Linked DNA regions of Homo sapiens: regions 2 and 3 are each linked to region 1. Evidence: promoter capture Hi-C in 16 types of primary human blood cells and fetal thymus (Javierre and others, 2016). All regions are on one chromosome and are shown on one strand. The core of a region is centred on a gene start or on the middle of the fragment in contact, and the rest is flanking DNA. Distances in the headings are between cores, read along the strand shown. Region 1 holds the start of PIK3CG (phosphatidylinositol-4,5-bisphosphate 3-kinase catalytic subunit gamma). Region 2 overlaps HBP1 (HMG-box transcription factor 1). Region 3 has its middle 4.0 kb from the start of HBP1.

What was found. The method cuts DNA at HindIII sites, captures the fragments that hold promoters and counts their contacts. A CHiCAGO score of 5 or more calls a contact.
Region 2: a contact is called between a fragment that was not itself captured here and the fragment with the promoter of PIK3CG in region 1, in 4 of 17 cell types (naive CD8 T cells, neutrophils, naive CD4 T cells and 1 more). The highest score is 6.0, in naive CD8 T cells.
Region 3: a fragment that was not itself captured here is called in contact with the fragment with the promoter of PIK3CG in region 1 in 10 of 17 cell types (naive CD4 T cells, naive B cells, total B cells and 7 more); the score reaches 10.0 in naive CD4 T cells.

What each region holds. Positions count from the first base shown.
Region 1 is chr7:106,863,961-106,866,626 of GRCh38, reverse strand. PIK3CG (phosphatidylinositol-4,5-bisphosphate 3-kinase catalytic subunit gamma) reads right to left here and starts at 1,345. Exons shown (of 11, transcript NM_001282426.2): 1 at 1,201-1,345. RefSeq lists an enhancer at 1,174-1,273. The HindIII fragment of the contact is 4,956 bases long and covers 882-2,666 here.
Region 2 is chr7:107,184,371-107,187,036 of GRCh38, reverse strand. It overlaps HBP1 (HMG-box transcription factor 1), which reads right to left. Exons shown (of 11, transcript NM_012257.4): 4 at 1,095-1,236; 5 at 565-676; 6 at 356-468. Among named protein-coding and RNA genes, the nearest start is that of HBP1, 17 kb to the right of the region's middle. The HindIII fragment of the contact is 689 bases long and covers 954-1,642 here.
Region 3 is chr7:107,163,710-107,166,375 of GRCh38, reverse strand. No RefSeq gene overlaps it. Among named protein-coding and RNA genes, the nearest start is that of HBP1, 4.0 kb to the left of the region's middle. The HindIII fragment of the contact is 5,231 bases long and covers 1-2,666 here.

The DNA of each region.
Region 1 (2,666 bases), core at 96-2,595:
TAATTAAAATTCATTTGATCTGTCTCTACTTAATAATGGAGGAGCTACAGGATGGAAGGCAGGATTTCTGGACTCCAGTGACCTTCTGTTAAGACCCCCAATCATTTAACTTCTTTTTTGCTCTAATATTTTCATTTTTGTAACACAAATTCACAAATTTATTCTCATTAACCTACTCACTCTTTCCACAAAATTCAGTAAGTACCTACCCTTCACAAAGCACTTATGTATAAATAGGACATACTGCAATAGGAAATCCTTCAAATAATAATTGAAATTTGAAAGGTATTAACACTGAAAGATTAGGTATTTTGCTTTCAATGTTTAGTATCACTACATTGTAATACATTATATTCTAAACGAATCAATTATTGAAACAAAAAATTAATGTTTCAGAAAATATCGTTTACTCTCTTAAATAACTAATGTTAGACTTAAAACTACATTATTTCCTTAAGAAATAGTGGAGCATTTGATGTATACCAAAAAGGAGAGCTTGATAAGAAGATAAGAAAGACAAATTTCATTTGATCCAAACTTATGTTCAAATCTTGGCTTAACTTTTAAAACCAATATTCCCTCTCTTAAAATATGAAGTTATACTTAGTAAGTGAAACCAACTGTCCCAAAGAACTGTCTCTTGTGGCTTAAAACATTCATTTTGGTCTTTTGCTACATTATAGAATAACTAACAAAGAAGAGAACTGTAAGATACATTGATATTGACACTAACTTGAAATAAAACATGTCCAAATTTAGGCAGCATATAAATACACAGCAATAACTTCTGCCTCAGTGATACCAAACGATCTTATAAGATGCAGAGGAAAACAGGCTGACTAATACTCACTGGTTTCCTTCATGGTTGAGGCTATGAAGCTTTCCCCTTTTATGAGAAGATGTTGGAAACACTGTAAGTACAGTAATCTTGAAGCATGCACTTGTAGGAATATGAAGCCTGGCTGCCGTGCCCTCCCTTTTCCTCCCAAAACAAAAACAAAAATGTGATGCACCTGCAAAACTATTGCCGGAACGTTGTAGATATCCACAATACAGGTTGGACTAGACAATGAAACACAGACATTCGGTGGTAGTATCATCTCAAGAACCGACAACAGTTTCAGATAATCTAGCCGAGAAGGAAGTGCCACTATTCCGAGTCAGACCCCACAAAGAGCAAAAAATAGAAGGAAGCAATACCTGATAAAGCAGCGGAGGCGATGATGCTGAAGGATCATTTGTTTAATTTTTGAAAACAAAACAAATTCAAACCTACCCAGTGTGCGTCTAAATTCTTCCGCTTTTCTGGGGCTCCCTTCATATCCAGATGCAGAGGAAGTGTTGCAGTTACCAGGAAGGAAGTTTTAACCAAGTTGATTATACGTGTGATTGCTCATTTTAAAAGTGTCAGAAATGCATTTCCTGTTTTAGCATAGAGAGGGTAGGAGTATGAGACTGAGCAATGTTTACCATGGTTTTTCTTTTCTTTTTTTTTTCTCTTTGAACTAATTTTTCAAAAATTGTGATACTGAGACAAAATGACATAAATCCAAACCAAAATTACCCATTATGAGACATAAACATATGAAATATCTTTGTAGCTAGTTCTAAGAGCCACAGTATTAGGTATCCTATTAGGAAGACTTTTACCAGTCAAATTAAACTCATTCCCCTCCTGGGAATTCAAAAGAATCCTTGTTCGCACATGCTAACTGAGGGGTGGGGGAAGAGAAACCTAGTCATCTTGAGGACTAAGTTATCAAGCTGAAAATTTTTAAAGGCATGGTCTGCAAGCTCACTTCCTTAGCTTGGTGAGAGCTTTCTCTATTTTTTCAGAGCATTTGGGGCCTAAAATATCACTGGCTCAAACTGAAAGCACTGCAGCATGTGCATGTGTGTATATAAATGTGACATACTGCAGTAAGTAACCCTTCAAATAATGGTTGAAATGCTAAAAGTATTAAAATTGAAAGATGAATAAAAAGGTATTTTGATTTTAATACTAAGTACCACTACATTGTAACACATTATATTCCAAACAAGGATCAACTATTGAAACAAAAATTAATGCTTCAGAAAATATCCTGTGTTGAGGATGGAGCCTTACTGTCAGCAATGACTGATTAATTAACTGTAGACAAAACAGAAGGAGGTTGCCTGTTATCATGGGGAAATTGGGGAGCTGAACACTGTTACAGCATCAGGCAGATTCCATCCTGGGAGGTGGCCCCTGATTCCTATGGGAGTAGAGAATGCATAGAAAAGCCATCCTGAATCATTTTTAGAGTAGCGTTGTATCTTCCAGGTGACCTCAGTTCTTTCTAGAACCTCCAAGCATCCTGAACCAGCGCCCCCTCCCTCCATCTCAGAATTCCCTATGCTAGAGTTCATCCTCCAATCGGGGTGTTGAGGGACTCCAGCTGAGCTTCAAGGGCAGCAGATAGAATGGAGTTGACCTCACAAGTCTCTTGGAGGTATGTAATTAAGAGTTCCTCTGAATTACTCTGATATTGAGATAAATGATTGATTTGACTTATTTCCTTTTACATATGCCTCTTGGGTTTTAACTTTTAAATAGCACTCTAATAGTTGACATCAGCAGGCAAATAATTTAATTCAAAGGCTGCCTCCCAAATATTTAGAGGGGTCTTATCAGCTTCTCAAAG
Region 2 (2,666 bases), core at 49-2,548, 320 kb before region 1:
TCGTGATCCACCCGCCTCAGCCTCCCAAAGTGCTGGGATTACAGGCATGAGCCACTGCGCCCGACCTCATTACATATTTTTAATACCAGTTTTCCCCATTGTAAAGTGTATAAAACACGAAGAAGCACCAAGAAATATACTATTTCCCATCCAAGAAAGCATGTTAGAAAGGCAAACCTAAAATCATTGCTCCTCCCCATCAGACTAAGCAATGAGTGGTCATAAAAATGCTCTACCTAAAATGTACGATGTCATTTAAATATCAAAGTGAATGGAGGATATTTCTGTAGATTAACAATAAATCTTGTTTCATTTGGAAAGATTTTGAAAAATTTTTTAAGAATTTTAAATCAACCTTGTGAATGCCCATTTGAAGATCTTCCTCATTATCACAGCCTTCAGCTCTAGCAAAATCTTCAACATCTTGCCATTCCTTATTGCTTCCCTTATGAAAGCACAGTCGTGTGCCTAAGGTTTAGGTAGAAAACACGTATTAGACACGTGACTGTACTAGACAAGTAAGCTGTGGAAAATTCAAGGTTTTTGTTTGTTTGTTTGTTTTACCTTTCAAAAAACAGTGCCAGACAGTTGAAGGCCAGGAATTGCACCATCCCAAATCATCATCATCTGACAGGGAGGACATGCAGAAAATGCCAGATTCTGACTCACTATTTGCCTATGGAGAAAAATATTATCAACTTTTTTATTTGTTTTTAAAATATACCTTTTAATATCTGTTTTCATCCCACGTCTTTAGGCCCATGCTTATAGGTGGATAACTTAGTAATTCTAACCTTAGGGAAAATATAATGCCTTCAAAAACTGAGGGTTGTCAGGCTGTGGGAGAATTTGCTAAAAAAAAAAAAAAAAGAAAAAAAAAGAAAAAAAAGACACACACAAAACAAAGTTTTTGGAAGCTTTAGTTATACGCACATTCCCATTAATAATAAGCTTTCCTAACACATAGCAGAGCTGTATATAAAATCAAATCCAGATCACTAACAGAACAGTGAGACTACTTCCTATGAGGAATGTTAATGTACTTCAACTGTTGTACAAACTTTGTAAAAGTTTAACCTCATAAATAAACTTACCCTTTCGTGTCTTACTGGTGTTTCCTCCTTCCAATGGTGATGAGGGAAGGCTGGTTCACTCTTCGAAGAAGAGGACACTGGTGGAGGGCGTGCATAGGAATGTAAACTTTTGCTAGTGGCTATGATGTGTACAGGAGATGATCTAAAATAAAGCAACAGTTTCAACCATAAGCATAGGTCCTTAAAGTAGATCTTTCCTATTAATGAAAGAACTTCATATTTAAAACGCCAATGTTATTACATTGAACACATTTATGGTAAACACTAGTAAAGACAGCAAGATTTCATTTTATAATTATATTCCTTAACTCCTTATCCAAACCCTCCTCACACATTTTAGACATCGTTTTTTTCAGATTTGACAATATATTTTAAACTACGACTATGGTTTCATTTATTTATCCCATTCATTTTTCTATCAATACATATACATGTGTATATTTCGTTTGTGAATGATAATACCCCCTCTAATGCAGGGCGTCCTATCCATTTCTTTCTTCTACTTTGATGTACTCAGTAAGTCTCAGTATGAAGACAGCATTTAAGCTTAGTGTAACCAACTCTGAACTCTTTATCTACCAACCACATATCACTGGGCAGATACAAGAACTACCTTAAGCAAAAATGCTTACACTTTTTATAGCAGAGAGCAGCCTATCCACCCTCCTTGTAACTGGACACTATTTCTTGTTTTCTAATACAAACTTGCTGAAAAGCAACTACATATAAGGTCTAGTTATTTTTTCTCCTCAAAGATCACCTTAAAAAAAAAACTTTATCCCTTGCCCTCTTTTCTTCCCCTCAAAAGTCTCTTTTACCAGACAATGCTCCCTTTAGAGTATATGGAGCTCCCAGGAGCATACCCAGATCCTTCCCTCACAAACAGACCAGATATTCATGGGTGGGGTAACAGAAAGAAACAAGCCTATAGAGGATGATGAATGATGTGTATGGACTCAGCAGTCTGGAAAGGAAGCAGAGAGGAAGACAGCCAGGTGGAGGAGGGAAAACCATCTGAAGGTAAGGTCCCAAATCAGGATAATTGTCTGAGATGCCAAATAGAGATCTGGTCCTTAACAGAAAAAGTTTATGCATGTCTGTACTAATACTCTTTAAAAAGGAGAGGAAGGGCCGGGTGCAGTGGCTCATGCCTGTAATCCCACCCAGCACTTTGGGAGGCCAAGGCAAGCGGATCACGAGGTCAGGAGATGGAGACCATCCTGGCTAACACAGTGAAACCCCATCTCTACTTAAAATACAAAAAACCAGCCAGGCATGGTGGTGGGTGCCTGCAGTCCCAGCTACTCGGGAGGCTGAGGCAGGAGAATGGCGTGAACCCGGAAGGCGGAGCTTGCAGTGAGCCGAGATTGCACCACTGCACTCGAGCCTGGGCGACAGAGCAAGACTCCGTCTCAAAAAAACAAAAACAAAAAAGAGAGAAAGGACATCTTTCCAATTTTTCCCTTATTCCCTGAGAATTTGTATTAGCCCTTCAATTTCTACCTTATCCTCATTAACATTTTTCATTTTACCTTTCCAGAAATTACTTTTACATAAGGATCTATACTTTCA
Region 3 (2,666 bases), core at 48-2,547, 300 kb before region 1:
CTTGGAAATTTTTACATGTGCTAATTATACTCTCAGACTAAAACAGATATAACTACAGTTTTTAACTATCTTTCAGATGTTTCCATGATAAAATTGAAGTTAAAAAATCAGTTACTTTAAATAACACCTCTTCTTGATTGGTACAGTCACCATATCTATACACACATATACACACATAAAATGTATGCAAAAAAATGTCAAGAAATTGTCAAATCAAAATGTCTTTCCAGCGGTTTGTAAAGTTACCTCTGTTATCTTAAATATCAAGTTCTAATTTGTTAGAGATAGTAAAAAACGAACAGAAGAAAAACAAAAAACCGGTAAATCCTATTTAGGAGTGAAATAATGTGTTTCCCTGATTCCACCATATTTGACACACCAATGACTGCTTTGCTTAACTACAGAGAAGTTCAAGTACATGCATTGCCTGATATTGAAAATAATCACTTTGAATTGTCAAAAGGTAAACAAATGAAATCACATGAACAAGTACTAAATGGAGAAATTGAACACATGTATGGTCTAAGTACTTCTCAAAGTTTTCAGACAGCATCTTGAATGTTTAAACTCCAACAAATATCCTTCCATATACCTTACTATCCTTTCAAATGAGTTAATTTTCTAATTAGTTCAAAGTACTCAGGTAATTCAGTCAAGTTGTAATGAAATCCACAGGAGCTAATGATGGCCATTGTAGAAGTGAGTCATCTGTCTCCTGTTCCTGTAGTTCTTGATGCAACTGAAGTTTAGATTTTGCTCCGATGACCAGAAAGCAAGACCTTTCTTCAGTGGCTGATAAGCTAATGTCTTAACACTATAACCACATTAGGAAGAAAAATCAACGTAAAAGGGAAGAATCAAAATGATTGTGTCTCCAGCTTGGGTAATTGCAGTATGTTGGGGAAGGGTGGTTATGTTGATGTTATTGACTGAGGGAATGCTGGAGAGGATAGCAGATTTGGGGACTGGGAGGAAGGGAAAGGATAGGTTCAACCTCGGGTGATAAGCATGCTGTGCAGGAAGAAATTTGAGTCCAGAGGTCCTTGGGCAGCTGAATATATTCATCTGGCATTTAGGAAGTCCAAGTCTGGAGAAATAAACCTGGGTATCCTCAGGACATAGAGAGGAGTACTCATTTTTTTATCCCAATTTTTCCCAAAAAGTTTTTGTCAAGTCTAATTTGGTATAAATGAAAATGTATTTAGAGAAGGCAACAATTCTATTTCATCTCACTCTCGATGTTTAAAATCAAGCTCAAATGACTATTCTCATGTCCTGCAAGTTTTCTAGAGATCATTACTGTTATCTGAACTATTTAACACAAACTCTCACATAGTATTTTCTACTCCCGTCTATTTGGTATCCTAGGACCTTCTCTATGTTTAGTTGCTAGCAAAAAGTACCTCATTTTAAGTGCAATTAAGTCAGATAAAGAGCAATTAAAATTGTAGGAATAGGGCGGGGCACGGTGGCTCACGCCTGTAATCCCAGAACTTTGGGAGGCTGAGGTGGGCAGATCACAAGGTCAAGAGATCAAAACCATCCTGGCCGAAATGGTGAAACCCCATCTCTACTAAAAATACAAAAATTAGCTGGGTGTGGTGGCACGCACCTGTATTCCCAGCTACTCGGGAGGCTGAGGCAGGAGAAACGTTTGAACCCAGGAGGCAGAGGTTTCAGTGAACCGAGATCACACCATTGCACTCCAGCCTGGGTGACAGAGCCAGACTCTGTCTCAAAAAAAAAAAAGTAGGAATAGTACACACATCGCTTTTATCACACTGTGCTAAACTGAATATTGTTGCTTACATTTGTCCCCCCTCCACATTTACATTCTCTCCTTATCAGTCACCATCTCATGCGCTTTTTTTTGTCTGGTCCATAATAAGCTATTAAAAAAATACCTACCTGTGGAACAAATGAATAAAAAGGGGAGACAAGCAGCATGAATTTTCTCATATACAGCGTAGTGTAGCACTATATATAGGATGCTGGTCTGAATATTTGACTTTGTTAAATAACTTGCATGCACTTTAACTGTCACTTCCTCTATGTAATCATTGTTATTATTTGAGAACGTCTCATCTTTCAGCTATGTTTATATGATAAGCACTATTATTCATTTTTGTTTCCCTCACAGTGTCAGTCACTCAAAGGCAAACAAAGTATTGGGTTGCTGCAAAAGTAATTGTGATTTTTACCATTTTTACCATTTAAAAAATGGCAAAAACCACAATTACTCTTGCACCAACCTAATTAACACTTCAACTCCTTCAAGTTATACAGAATATAAGTAATAAAAATGTTGAGGATATTTAATTGTTCAGCTTTAAAGTGCAATTATGAGAAAATAGATTTACCAAAGATGTCTTTATAGTGTGCACCTTTCTTAAAATATTGCTTGGCTTTTAAAAAATGTCATTTGTATATACCTCAAGAATATAGTCATTATGTAAAGGAAGTACACTTGTATTAAATGTCAGCCCTTGGCCTAAGAGAGGTGATGAAGTTTCAGGGATGCAGAGTTTATTCTCTTGTTCCTCAGCAAGATCTAGGAAGGTTTCTGATTAGAACCAAGATGGAAAACCAGTCATCAATAGCAACTTTATCTAAGATTTTAACTGGTCATATTTCCTGTTCATAAACTCATTCGAAGGTCTACTTTG